Linked DNA regions of Homo sapiens: region 1 is linked to region 2. Evidence: promoter capture Hi-C in human tissues and cell types (Jung and others, 2019). All regions are on one chromosome and are shown on one strand. Each heading gives the region's core, a stretch centred on a gene start or on the middle of the fragment in contact. The rest is flanking DNA. Distances are from core to core; before and after follow the strand shown.

Region 1 (7,086 bases), core at 3,971-6,470, 140 kb after region 2:
TCTTTTATGAGTTTATGTTTGTGGTAGATTTTAATCTGTTGAAAACTATCTTTGTAATCCTAGCACTTTGAGGACATGGCAGGAGGATTGCTTGAGGCCAGGAGTTTGAGACCAGCCTGGGCAACAAGGGAAACCCTGTCTCTACAGAAATCTTTAAAAATAGCCATGCATGGTGGCATGTGCCTGTAGTCCCAGCTACTGTGGTGAGGCAAGAGGATCACTTGAGCCCAGGAGTTCGAGGCTGCAGTGAGCTATGATAGTGATACTGCACTCCAGCCTGGGCAACACAGCAAGATACTGTCTCTAACAAAACAATACAAAAAAACTGAAGGATGGTTCCTCTGAAGAAGAATGTGTTTCCTTCAGTTAGAAGCCAGAGGACCACAACAGCACTCGGCTTAATTCAAGTATCTTAAGTCAAATTGCCTACCTTGTGCAACTCCCTGCATATAAAGCTTAGTCAATTGTAGTAAAAATTAACACAGGACAACCTCCTTTGTGTACACCTACAAATCACTGCTCCAATTTTAGTTCCATTTACCTTTTTTTCAAAATTGTCCCCATTGGCACCAACATGTATGTACTCTGGATTTTGTTTATTATAAACAACTACAAAATCCTTTTGATGTATGTCTAATGTCTTAAGCATATTACAGGATGAAAACTCTGTGCAGAATCCCCATTTTCTCATGAGATTTGTGTATTTATTCATTCAAAAAATTTCTATGAAGTGTCTACCATGGATCAGGCAATATTCATGGAACTAGGGGGCTCGAACATAGAGAAACAGACAGACAAAAAAACAAAATATTTCCTTCATGGATCTTACATTGTAAGAGAGACAAACACAAATGAGGTCATTGTAAAATATATAATGTGTTCAATGGAGCTAAGTAGTAAGAGAAGAAAAATAGACCAAAGAAGGGGATATGAATGGAAAGGGAGGTAAAAGTGTAAGAGGATATCTAGGAAAGATCTCACTGAGAAGGTATCTTCGAGTAAAGACTAGAATGAAATGAGGGAGCTGGCCACTGGGGCTATTCAGGAGAAAAACAATCTGGACAGAGCAAACAAGACCCTCCGAGGGCAAAGGACCCCAGTCAGAGTGCAAAGAATACTAGAGCAGCAAAGGCCATTGTGGCCAGAGGGAGAAAAGAAGGAGAAAAGGGTCAAAGATGAACTCAGAGAAGTTAAAGGAAAGCAGATCACATTGGACTGAATGGATCATAGTTATGACATTGCCTTCTACTTTGAATGAGATAGGAAATTATTGGAGGGTTTGGAGCAGAAGGCAGTGATTTCTTTTTTCCTGACAAACATGTAAACAGGATCACTGCAAGATACTAGACACCAACACACTCATCTACAGAGGAGTTGAGTTTTTGTGTTGCTGAGAAGTGTTTATTAATAAAAATATATTTGGGAAATTTATGAGGGCAGACAAGAATAAGCATGAAAAGAATCATGAATCTAACTGTAAAATAAATGAAACAATACACGTGCAAGAAGAAAACATGGATGAATTATTGTGTAACCTGGAGAATGGTTTTTAAAACCATGGCTCCTAATCCAGATGCAATAAAAGAAAAGATTTATCAACTTGACTGCATTAAAACAGACAATGCTTACAAGGCAAAACGATGCCATAAACAAAGTCAAAAGACAACTGACAAACTGGGAGGAAACATTTGCAAAACACATCCAGAATAACAATCCTAATATATATAAATAAGTCTCAAACATTGAGAGAGGAAAAGGCAAATATACATGATAAAAATATATTTTATAAATGTTCAGCGTTACTCATAGGGAATGCAAATTAAAGCTACACTGAGATAAAATGTCTCATTTATTAGACTGACTAAAATTTAAAACCATGATGACAGCACATTAGATTAATGAGGTGCTCTCACACAGTTTTGTAGGAATATATGTGGTACAACTCTTATTAAGGAAATTTGGCAATATCTAACAAACCTACATATGTGTTTACCATTTGACCCAGCAATCCCACTTCTAGGAATTTGAACTGAAGACATGCTTCTAACAGCAGAAAAATAAATATTCACAAAGTTACTCTTTAGAGCATTAAAAACAACCAAACTGTCCATACATAGGGAGATGGTTGAATAAACTATGGCATATCCACACAGTGAAGTATTGCATGCAACTGTAAAAATGAATGAGGAATATTTGAATTTGTAGGAAATAGTGGATTCCAGCATATTTGTTAAGTTAAAAAAGAAATGTGCAAAAGAATACCTATAGCATGCTTTTAAAATGTAATAAAAAAGGAGAACTAAGAAGACAAATGTGTAGCAGCTCATTTGAGCAAAACTAAGGACAAACCAGAAACTACTGAAATTGAGTACCTATGGTGGAGAGGATAGAGGTGATGGAGAGAAGTGACATTTCCCTTTTATTGTGTCTTTTTATATCAATCTGACATTTGGGACTACGTTAATGTTTTATTTAAGCAAAAAAAAATCAAAAAGATTGAGGGGAAACTAAAATAGAATACAAAGAGAAACAAATTAACAGTATTTTGAATGAATAACAATCACACTGAAGAGGGGGAATAATCTGAGTAACTTTGGAACACAACAATGCTGTTTTTATATTTTCGGGCTATAAACAAAATAAAACTTTAAAAACGAGTAGATTTGATTTCCATCATAGTATAGAAATAGCAATTTTAAACTTCTTTCTGTGTATTCTAGGATTAAGCAAATAAGTAAATATATTGTGGATCTAGGTGTCTCACTGTTGAAGAAGGGAGTTACACATGCAGAAAGAGGGAAGGACAGAATGAACTCTATGCTAACGGACTGAAATTGGAAGAATCACTGTGAATTCATGACATATATAAATATAGATATGGGAATGGATATACATATATATATATAATACATATCCTTGCTCTGTCTGCTGAGAGGGTGCGGAAACAATGATACTCCAATAAAAATGAACACACTTAGCATCCAATTCTGGCATCTAAATGCCATTCTCTGCCAGAAAGAACCAGCATTCCTTGGAGAAACAGCAAATTCCAGTGTCAGGTCTAGAGGTGAGTCTGGAGCATTTTTTTTTGTGTGTGTGCCAGAAAGTAAGGAAGTGCTCAAAGAACAATAAGAACAAGTCAAAATGACATAGGAACTATTTTGAGGGCTCCCACTGGCCCGATCAGGGAGAATTTAAGCATCAAAATAAATAATGGTAGCCATGAATTATGACCCATTGAGTAAATAAATAAAATTCATATTGATATAGTTTATGCTGATATAGATAAATGAATAAATAAATAGAGAAGGGAAAACTTTTATTTACAGTAAAATGCCAACAGATGAATATAGAAGTAATTATTAAATTAGGAAAAAACACCCTTTGACAACCATCATAGTAAAAATTGATTCAAGAAAGGATCATCAATAGACGCTAAAATTTGTGGGTAAAAATTTGATGAAAAAATGAGGAATTTACATAGTTTTAAAGTATCTCCCTATAAAATACTTATTAATTACAAAGGGAAAAATACTGAGTCTACACTAAGAAACATGGCAGGCACCATCTTAACTAAGTGATCAAAGTTACCACCACCAGTAATAGGACAAATAGACAACATATGCCTCCCCGTAAGGATAAGACATCCTTTCTGGTATTCCTGTCAAATAATTAGATTCAATAACCTGAATCTATCATGAAGAAATGATAGACAAATCCAAATTGTGGGGTGTGATCCTGTCTCCTGACATTACCATCCACGTATACTGCCCTCCTACACTGAAAAGGGCTGATCTGTACAATCAATTGGATATTCTGGAGTTAACATATTGTGATTTCTGAGGACAGGTCACAAAGGACATTATGGCTTCTTCTTTCTTGTTCTCAGAGACGCTAGCTGGCATGTCACGAGGACACTCAACACACAAGCAGCGAGCCCTATGGCAAAATCCACGTGGTGAAGAATGAAGCTTCCAGCCAAAGGCTGGTAAGTGAGCCATCTTAGATGTGGATTCGCCTATCCCAGTTAACCCTTCAGATGACTGCACCTCCAGCTGGTGTCTTAACTGCAATCTCCTGAGCGATCCCAAGCCAGAACCACCTGACCGACCCACAGAAACTGTGAGATCATAAATGTTTATTCTTGCTTTACACCACTACCTTCAGGGTAATTTGTTATTATAATAGATAACGGACTTAAAAGTCATTCTCCAAAAATAATTGTGGTGTATTCGTCAAAAATGTAAAGGTCATGCAATACCAAAAATGCTGAGGACATTTTTCCAGAATAAAGAACTGGGGGTGGGGGGAAGGCATAATGATCAAACACAATACATGATCCTGAAATGATTCTGGACCAGGAAAAACAAAGGTTGGTTTCTATTGTTGTTATTGTTTTTACCATAACACAGGTTATTGAGATGATTGTCAAAATTTAAATACAGATGGTAGCTTATAGTCTTGTGTCAATGTTAAGTTCTTATTTTTGATCATTGCACTCTAGTTATGGAACAGAAAGTCCTTAGTGAACCATTTAGAATAGGAATAAATGCTAGATGGTTCCAAAGTAATAATTATATAATTATAATTATATAATCACATATATGTACATATATGTCTATAGAGAAAGAATAGAGAATGGTAAAGAAAATACAGCAAAATGTTAACATGCAGAGAATCTGGGTGACAAGTATATGGGAATTCTCTGCAGTACTCTTGAAACTTTTCTGTAGAGATTACTTCAAAATAAAGAACAGAGCAGAAGTGGCTGCTGTTCCTAAATTCCCTAAGTAAACTTACACTGCTTTTTCAAACTGGGAGATGAATCCACTAATAGGTTTTGAAATGAGTTTGGTGGATTTCTAATAAGAATAGGATAGCCTAGCCTAGTCTAGCATAACACAGCATGGCACAGAGGACGAACATTGTAGATTACTAAGGGTGAGTACTAACTTGTGAAAGTTTTGTTTAAGTTCTAGTAAGAGAAACAAGTGAGTGTAGTGGGTTGCGTGGTCAAAAAAGTGGGGAAGCCACCGCAACGAGGGGTGAGTCTGAGCCAAAGAGTGGCTCAGAGCTCCCCGCCCACCTCGTGCCGGGCCGTCCCTCCCGCTTGTCCCACCCTCACCGGCGCCGCGTCAGCCCCCAGGCCGCCTGCAGGTGTGCGCTCAGAACTAGCACGTGTGCCGGACACTATTTAAGGGCCCGCCTCTCCTGGCTCACAGCTGCTTGCTGCTCCAGCCTTGCCCTCCCAGAGCTGCCGGACGCTCGCGGGTCTCGGAACGCATCCCGCCGCGGGGGCTTCGGCCGTGGCATGGGCGCCGCGGGCCTGCTCGGGGTTTTCTTGGCTCTCGTCGCACCGGGGGTCCTCGGTGAGCTGGGAGGGGGAGCACGGAGGTGGGGACGCGTCCCGGGCAGGGAAAGTTTCTGTGCCGCGATGCAAAGCAGGGGGCCAAAAGCGAGACGGTGGGGGCAGTGCTCGACGCGTGTCCGCCTCCCGCTAGCTTTGAGGGACCACTGCAATAAACCGCCTGGTCCTGATTGTCCCCACTGGCCCCTCCGGGAGCTGGGACCTCCAGAATTGGAGGCTGCGCCACAGAGGGGCGCTGTCTGGTCGGCCCGGTGTGGCTGGCGGCGTGCGGGTGCTCGCGGTCTCCTGCCGGGCTCCCCGCCCCCAGGATTCTGCAGGTGCTCATCGCTCTCTGGCCGGCGGTCAGCGCTACCGCTCGCCACGGGAAACCTACCCACTGCATGAGGCACCAGCTAGCCACGTGAGGCTGTTTCTGTACACCCGAACCGCGCTCTTGCCCAGCAAAAGCGGCAGAACCTCGGCTCCCTTCCCTAAATAAGAGTAAGACCTGGTTCCCAAGCATGGGTCTCAGATTTTCTGAACTCTAATGTGATATTGGTAGAGATCCTAAACATTAACCATCCGTAGTTATTTTTGAGACATGGATTAAAACTATTGTTTTCTTCTTGTTATTAACCTACTGTAATGGTGTGGACGTCCGCAAAGGTCTCATTCACCGTTTATTATATCTTTTTTTCCTCCAGATTGGCTTGATTTTAAAGAAAGATTATAATTAAGATTAGCGTCTCTTGGCTACAGGATGGGTCTAAGTTTCTAATTATCTCCACGGTACCGTGCATTCCTAGTTTATAAGACGTTTACTGTGTGCAGACCTCAATAACTGGGTGACTTTTGGCAAGTCATTTAGCTCCCTGATCTTCAGTTTCTTCATCTGTAAAATGAAACTAGTGATTAACTGGCCTTCCACCTCACTGAGCTGCCCTGAGCACAGATGAAACTAAGCAAAGAAAGTTGGATGTTAGTCGTTACTACTAAATATCAGTAATAAGCCTCCTGTACAGACTTGATTTTATGGAGCCAGCATTTAAGCTAACAAGCTGGGTGTCCAATTGTTTCTATGGACATCCAGCTTATTGAGGTGTCTGGAATACAGCACATATTAGTTTATTACAACTTTTTGCTTTCCTGACATTTTACTGTCTCCTGACCCTTAAACCTTTCTCCAGACCATTATCTTCATCTCTTTTCTTTTTCTGCATATTAACTCCCTTTGAACAAATGTATATTCACACTTTTTCTAAGAGCAGAGTACGTCCCTGACTTCTCACCTATTTCTAAATTTCAAAGAGGATATTATCAACTGAAAATCAAATTCTTCACCAGTCCTGCCAATTCAGGGCCACAGCAGCAGCATCATGTAGGTCACTTAACTGGAGCCCCATGAAATACCAGGTCTACCTATCAGCCATTCAAGCTACTGTGCTTCTGTTGTTTGTCCATTTCTCATTTTTGTACCAGTATTCCCATCCTAAGCATTATAATTACCTGTGTAACAACCTCATCTCTTTTAAGAGATTTTGGTTCTTATGATTGGAAAGGTTAAAGAGTGACCTATAGGTCACTTTCCAATTATGAAAACAAAAAATTAAGAAATATATATATTTTCATTATTTCACTCCATTGTTCAAAAATCTAAAAGGCCTCCAGTGGAAGAAAATCTGGTGTCTTCAGCCTTTCTAGCCCTTTGGAATGGGATCTCACCGAAGCTCACACCCCCT
Region 2 (6,262 bases), core at 371-2,870:
AAAGTGCTGGGATTACAGGCATGAGCCATCGCACCTGGCCGCAGAATGACATTATCGTTACATCTACACTTGAATGTATTTTATATTGCATTTAAATTTATTTACATGTATTTTAACTTAACTGGTAAAATTCTGAAGCATGGGTATAATTATTCTCTTAATGCACCTTATTCTTTTAAATTTCTGAATTAATGGAATCTGTAGACATTATTACAAAGATATATCTGAGCCAGTTATATTACTGAAATCACCTTTGCAAAAATTATGACAGTGAGAAAAATATGACATAGGAAAATTATGACAGTAAAGGAAATCTGACCTAACCAACTCCATCTTGGTTCTAACCTCCAAGCTGTCCTTGTTCATTCCCGGGTACAGGCTGAACTAACTTTGAGAGGAATTTAGCTCATGGTTTAACTTTGAAACAAAGATGATAACAGCCTTCCCCAAAACAAATCCCCTCCTTGTTTGGGGACCAGATTGCCTTTGTAAAACTAACAAAATTACCCACAAGATTAGGAATTATGGAGTCATGCAACCAGAGATCACAAGATTCCTAAGCTCAATTGCTCTGATAGATAACATTACTGTTGTAAAACCTAAGATTGGTGTTCGAAGCATTTTTCAGACCCTGCATTCTGATAGACCAGCTGGTGCCACCCAGACTGGTAAACTGGCTCATCTGGTTTTGTGGCCCCCACCCAGGAACTGACTTAATGCAAGAGGACAGCTTGGACTCCCTGTGATTCCATCCCTGACCCAATTTATCACCATTCCCCATTCCCTAGCTCCCTACCCGCCAAACTGTCTTACAAAAATCCTAGCCTCTGACTTTTTGGGGAGGCTGATTTGAGTAACAATAAAACTCCAGTCTCCAATTTAGCCAGCTCTACATGTATTAAACTTTGTCTACTGTAATTCCCATCTGGATAAATCAGTTCCATCTGGACAGTGGGCAAGAAGAATCTGTTGGGCAATTACATTACCCACTGACAAAGTAAAAATCCGGTGCTTGGAGTGAGCAGACCAAATACACAACACCCTTTAAAATATGGTGCTTGCAGGGATCTGCTTTTTATTTTGTAGTTTATTGTGAAGTGTGGGTGGTGTGATGGGCCAAGCACAAAACCTGCAGTTGATGATGTGGGTTCATGCTTTACCCTGATTATTATTAGGTGTATGACTTTGGACTTGTTAGAGAATCACTGAAATTCATTTAGAGGTTAATAATAACACCTATCTCACAGAGTGGATCTGAGAATTAAGTGAGATATTAGTGAAAAACTCCCCAGAGATGATAAGTCCTACATTCATCTAAATTGTTGCTGTCATTATTTCTGTCTGCCACATTATCCTGGCACAAGATTTAGTGGGGATTCATTGAGCAGGTGAGAGGTGATGTGGAAAAGATCCATAAAATTACCTCATTAGCTCTGAGAACCTATCACTAGCTCTTCAGATGGAGCAGTGAGAACAGGCTGGGATCAAACAGTATGGAGAAAAGAATCTCCTTGGTTCTCCTTTCATGGGAAATTGCATCAGAAGTTCCTGTGGATGGCTTGTTAATTGGTGAGCATTCTGATTCAACACTGTGTCTCTCAGAATATAGTAAACAACCAAGGTTACACTATCCACATCAAATGATTAATGCAATATGCTTATAATTGTTTTGTGATTTTGCCAATTTTCTCATATATATAACAACTCAGTGTTTTGCAAGTCAGCAAAGCCCATTGATATTGTTCTTTATGGGCTCAAATTATTTCACATCCATGGTTAACACTACTTCAAACTGATTGACAAAATTAGGGGGCAAAACGAGAAAAGGTGTATTTGGTTGTGCTATTCTTGACACATAACCCAGTTGATTCACTGTTGCCAAAGCCCACCAACTCCACATCTGAGACCTTTGATTCCATTTTATGATTTTTAATCAACTTCATTGAGGTATAATTTACATAAAACAAATGGAAACATTCAAATTATCCAGTTTCACGAGTCTTGACAAATGTATACACCATGTAACCACTACCCCAATAAATATATAGAACATTTTCCCCCAAAAGTTCCCTTTTGCCATTTTGCAGTAAATTCTCCTACCCTCTTGCACTCCCCACTCCCGATAGTCATTACTTTGATTTCTATCATCATAAGTTGATTTTGCTTGTTCTGGAACTTCATATAAATGAAATCATATAATATCCACTCTATGTGCCTAGTTTCCTCTGCTCAGCAAGTTTTTGAAATTCATCCCTATTGTGTGTATCATTAATTTGTTCCTTTTTAATGTGAAGTAGTATTCATTGTATGGAAGTGCCACAATTTGTTTAACCATTCAGCTACTTATGAATTGTTTCCAGCTTGTAGCTGTTATAAATAAAGCTTCTATAAACATTTATGTACAAATCTTTGTAGACATTTTTATTTTTCCTGGGTCCATACTTGGAAATATAAGGTCATATGGTAAGTCTCTGTTATGTAAGAAGTTTCTAAATTGGTTCTTTTCCATGCAAACCTGACACACACACAAACAAACCCTGACATAATTATTATAGACCTTTGGGCTAATGGACTAAATGACATCAAAATGAGGCCACATGGTCTGGAAACATGAGGGGGAAAGGATGTCACAGAAGTAGTAGAGGAGGTGGTATCAGATGGGGGACTTGAGAAAACAGAAGTGTTTTCAACAAAACCTGCAATTATTGTTTGTCTGAAGTAAATTACCTTCTTCATAGCAGAACATTTGGCTATATGAGAAAGTACTATTTATCCTAGAGAAATGATCATCATATAGGTAAATGGATTTTATTTGACATCTGAAAGAACAGTGCTAGGAAAATACTCACCGATGAACACTTTGAGAAAGATCGAGGAACGCTTTAGTCTTCATTATGCACCAACAAATAAAAGGTAACACGTAGAGTGGACGGAGCATAATTTTAAATCTCCCCAGAACTGGGTTCAAATTTTGCTTGGCTTTGCCATCTGTATTGTTTTATCCAATCATTTCCCCCTCTGAACCTGTCCCAACATGTGCAATTGTAAGTAATAATAGTTTACTCATGGCACTGCTGGATGGTTAACCAAGGTTAAGTCTCAAAGTGAGAGTATCAATGGAAGGTGATCCCTTCAATGTAAATTTCTTCTTTCTTCCCTCCTTACCCTTGTGCAATTCTAGTAAGCTTAAATTGTAAATCTGCTTAACTTGCAAGCTGTTAAATCAAGGGAAACAAACTGCAGATGGGACTACATTGGAGGTAAAGAATCCAATGTTTATACAATTCTGAATCTTGGTAAATGACCTAATCTTTGCTAAAGGAAAAATACTACTGAGTGGGGAAAGAATAAGGAAAACAACTAAATGATCTCCACATTGCTAATACATGAGAATTTCATATTGCTTTTACAGAATTTTAAAACTGTATGTCATGACATGGCTGTATTTATAGATTTCATGAAAAGTGGCCAAGTCTTGTTATAGGAAACATTCATTCATGTCATCACCCATGATCATTCATTATTGTTAATATTTATAGAGTACTGTGTGCCAAGCAATGGGCCAAATGCTTTACATACATTATTTCCTTTATTCCTCACAAAACCTCTATGAGGTAATATCATTACACCTGTTTTATAAGTGGGAAATTTGTGTTTCAGAGCGGTTGGGTGCTGGACCACACTCTCACATGCACACACACTCTCACATGCTCACATTCATACACGCACATACACTCTCACATGCTCATACACATTCATATACATGCACACACATGCTCACACAGGCTTTCATACACACACTCACATGCTCACACACATTCATACATGCACACACATGCACACTCATTCATACATGCACACACATGCTCAGACTTTCATACACACACACATGCACACACACATTCATACATGCACGCACACTCTCACATGCTCACACACATTCATACATGCACACACTCATGCTCACACATATACATGCACACACTCACATGCTCACATTCATACATGCACACACACTCTCACATGCTCACATTCATACATGCACATACTCTCATGCTCACACACATTCATATATGCACACTCACATGCTCACACACATTCATATATGCACACTCACATGCTCACACACGTTCATACATGCACACACACGCTTACACACTCATACATGCATACACTCTCACATGCAAACATATTCTCACATTCTTGCACACACATACTAAAATGAACAAACTAGCCACAAGATTAAAAATTATGGCTCAGGAGTCATGCAGCTAAAGGCTACAAGATTCCTAACCTTCCCAATTGCTCCTATAAATAATGTTACTATTGCAAAACCTAAATTTGTGTTTGAAGTTCACACATGAACACAGTCTCACATGTGTGCACACACACATTTTCTTGTTCCTGCCCCTACCTCCAAAGTGGAGGTAGCAAAAATTCACTGTTGTCTCAGAAAGTTAGATCTTGGCAAATAAATATTTGCTCACATAAGTCAAGCATTGCATTTCCCCCTGGCTGCTGAGCCTGTTCTCACACACACAGGGAAGTCAGCTGCAGGGCAGGATGCCATTTCATAGGTGAACATGTCACATGGAATTAGACCACTTTTTCCCAGGTCCTGCTGAACCTGCACCTAGTGAAAAAAAAACTACTATGTCTGCTGCAATACACTGATACCTTGATTAGTGAATTCCTGAAGAACTCATGTATAAGAAATGGGAGAGTCCACTCATTTGTTTTCATTTATTAAAAAATACCCTTATTCTGTGAAGCAGAATTACCTGTATTTGCAGCTGCATGACAAAAATGCCTCAATATAAAGCTCCCCCCAACCCCCACCCCCCGCCCATTGGCTATTTTAAGATAAGTTGGCAATAAATTTAGGCTGAGTTAGAATGTAAATATGAAATAGACTGGTTCCTCAGATGTGAGGCATAGATAGGCACATTACATACTTTGGTAGCATAGAGGAAGGTACCAGGTATGATGCAATGGCAAGGGAGATTTTCTGGAGGAATGTTGCCTGGCCAGTCTAACAGAGGTGTTAAGATCCTAAGCACTAGTTCTACTGCCAGCAAGCCATGTGGTTTGGGGCTAGTTTCTTAACTTCCCTAAACACCAGCTGGTTCACTTGCAATGAGGGTGATAATATTTGCTCACAGTTTTGTATTCCTTGGCTTTCAAGAAATTGCACAATCCTCTTTCCTTTCCACTACCTTCTCCTTTCCCTTTCTCTGTCATTTGTACTTTCTAACGTGGGGCTCCTCAAGTCTCACACCTTGGGCTTCTCTATTTCCACATGCTATGCTCCCTTGGTTCAAACCTTGCCTGCAGTCACATCTCTACCCACTCCACCTCAATCTTGCCTCCGTTTCAATCGCATGCTGGACATTTCCACGTAGACACTCTGCCAAGGCATTTGAAATTCAACAAGTGTAAAGCTGAATATGGATAGTTCTTTTAAATAGGGCTGCTAATCTCACAAACTCCAAACTTCCGAGTCCTCTTCAACATCTTTTTCCCCACTGTTCCTTATCTAATCAGTTGCCAAATTCTGTGGCTTATTACTTTGAAACTTGTTTGGTCAGAGCAGGAATGGAAATTCAAAAGTCTATAATAATTGTGTCAGGAGTTTTACAGAGCAACAGGACTGGAACTCCTTAATATAGATTTATTAATTTTAAAACTAAAAGACATTTTTGTTCTCTAAACACCTGGACTGTTGTAATTAGCTAAATTGGATCTTTGCTTACACAGCCATTCCCATTCCAGCATCTTAGATGCAAATTCCAAATTACCCAGGTGCTTCCTCCTTACAAGTGTCAACCGTCCTTTAATGCTTCTGAATGGTGTAAAAGGCACAGGCCTTGCCTTTAAGGCTCTCTCAAATCTCTTTCCAGCCTCTCTTACCCTCTTGTTCCATTGCCATTGCCTCAATTCAGTTCTCCATACTCTCCCTAAACTAAACTCCTTACTATTCCTGGAATCAACAGGACTGACCCCAAACCTTTGTTCGTATCTCATCTCTTTTCCTATTTTTGCCCTATTGCATTGACACTTGTCATATTTAGTTGAATCACTGGGCCTTTAGCCTTCCCCGCTCCAATTACCACACTCCCTTCTTTCCTTTCTGAAGCCCCATACCACTTTGGTTGTGATATTTGTATAGCATTTATCATGGAAAACCTCCCTACTAGATTGTAGATTCTCAAACACAAGTATTGACACTTAGTGGGTTTCTGTATACTAGGGAAGTTTATTA

Evidence for each region. Contacts are between HindIII fragments. The study calls those that stand out against the background at their distance.
Region 1: the fragment with the promoter of CR2 here is called in contact with a fragment that was not itself captured in region 2 in 1 of the 25 tissues and cell types used here (H1 embryonic stem cells).

The regions. Positions count from the first base shown.
Region 1 is chr1:207,449,108-207,456,193 of GRCh38, forward strand. CR2 (complement C3d receptor 2) reads left to right here and starts at 5,221. Exons shown (of 20, transcript NM_001006658.3): 1 at 5,221-5,369. The coding sequence starts at 5,312. RefSeq lists silencers at 5,060-5,289, 5,670-5,779. The HindIII fragment of the contact is 10,162 bases long and covers 2,214-7,086 here.
Region 2 is chr1:207,311,780-207,318,041 of GRCh38, forward strand. It overlaps LINC02942 (long intergenic non-protein coding RNA 2942), which reads left to right. Exons shown (of 4, transcript NR_186170.1): 4 at 1-2,402. The region is part of intron 1 of LOC107985251 (a long non-coding RNA gene); the gene reads right to left. Among named protein-coding and RNA genes, the nearest start is that of CD55, 6.8 kb to the right of the region's middle. RefSeq lists an enhancer at 4,805-5,634. The HindIII fragment of the contact is 6,321 bases long and covers 1-4,781 here.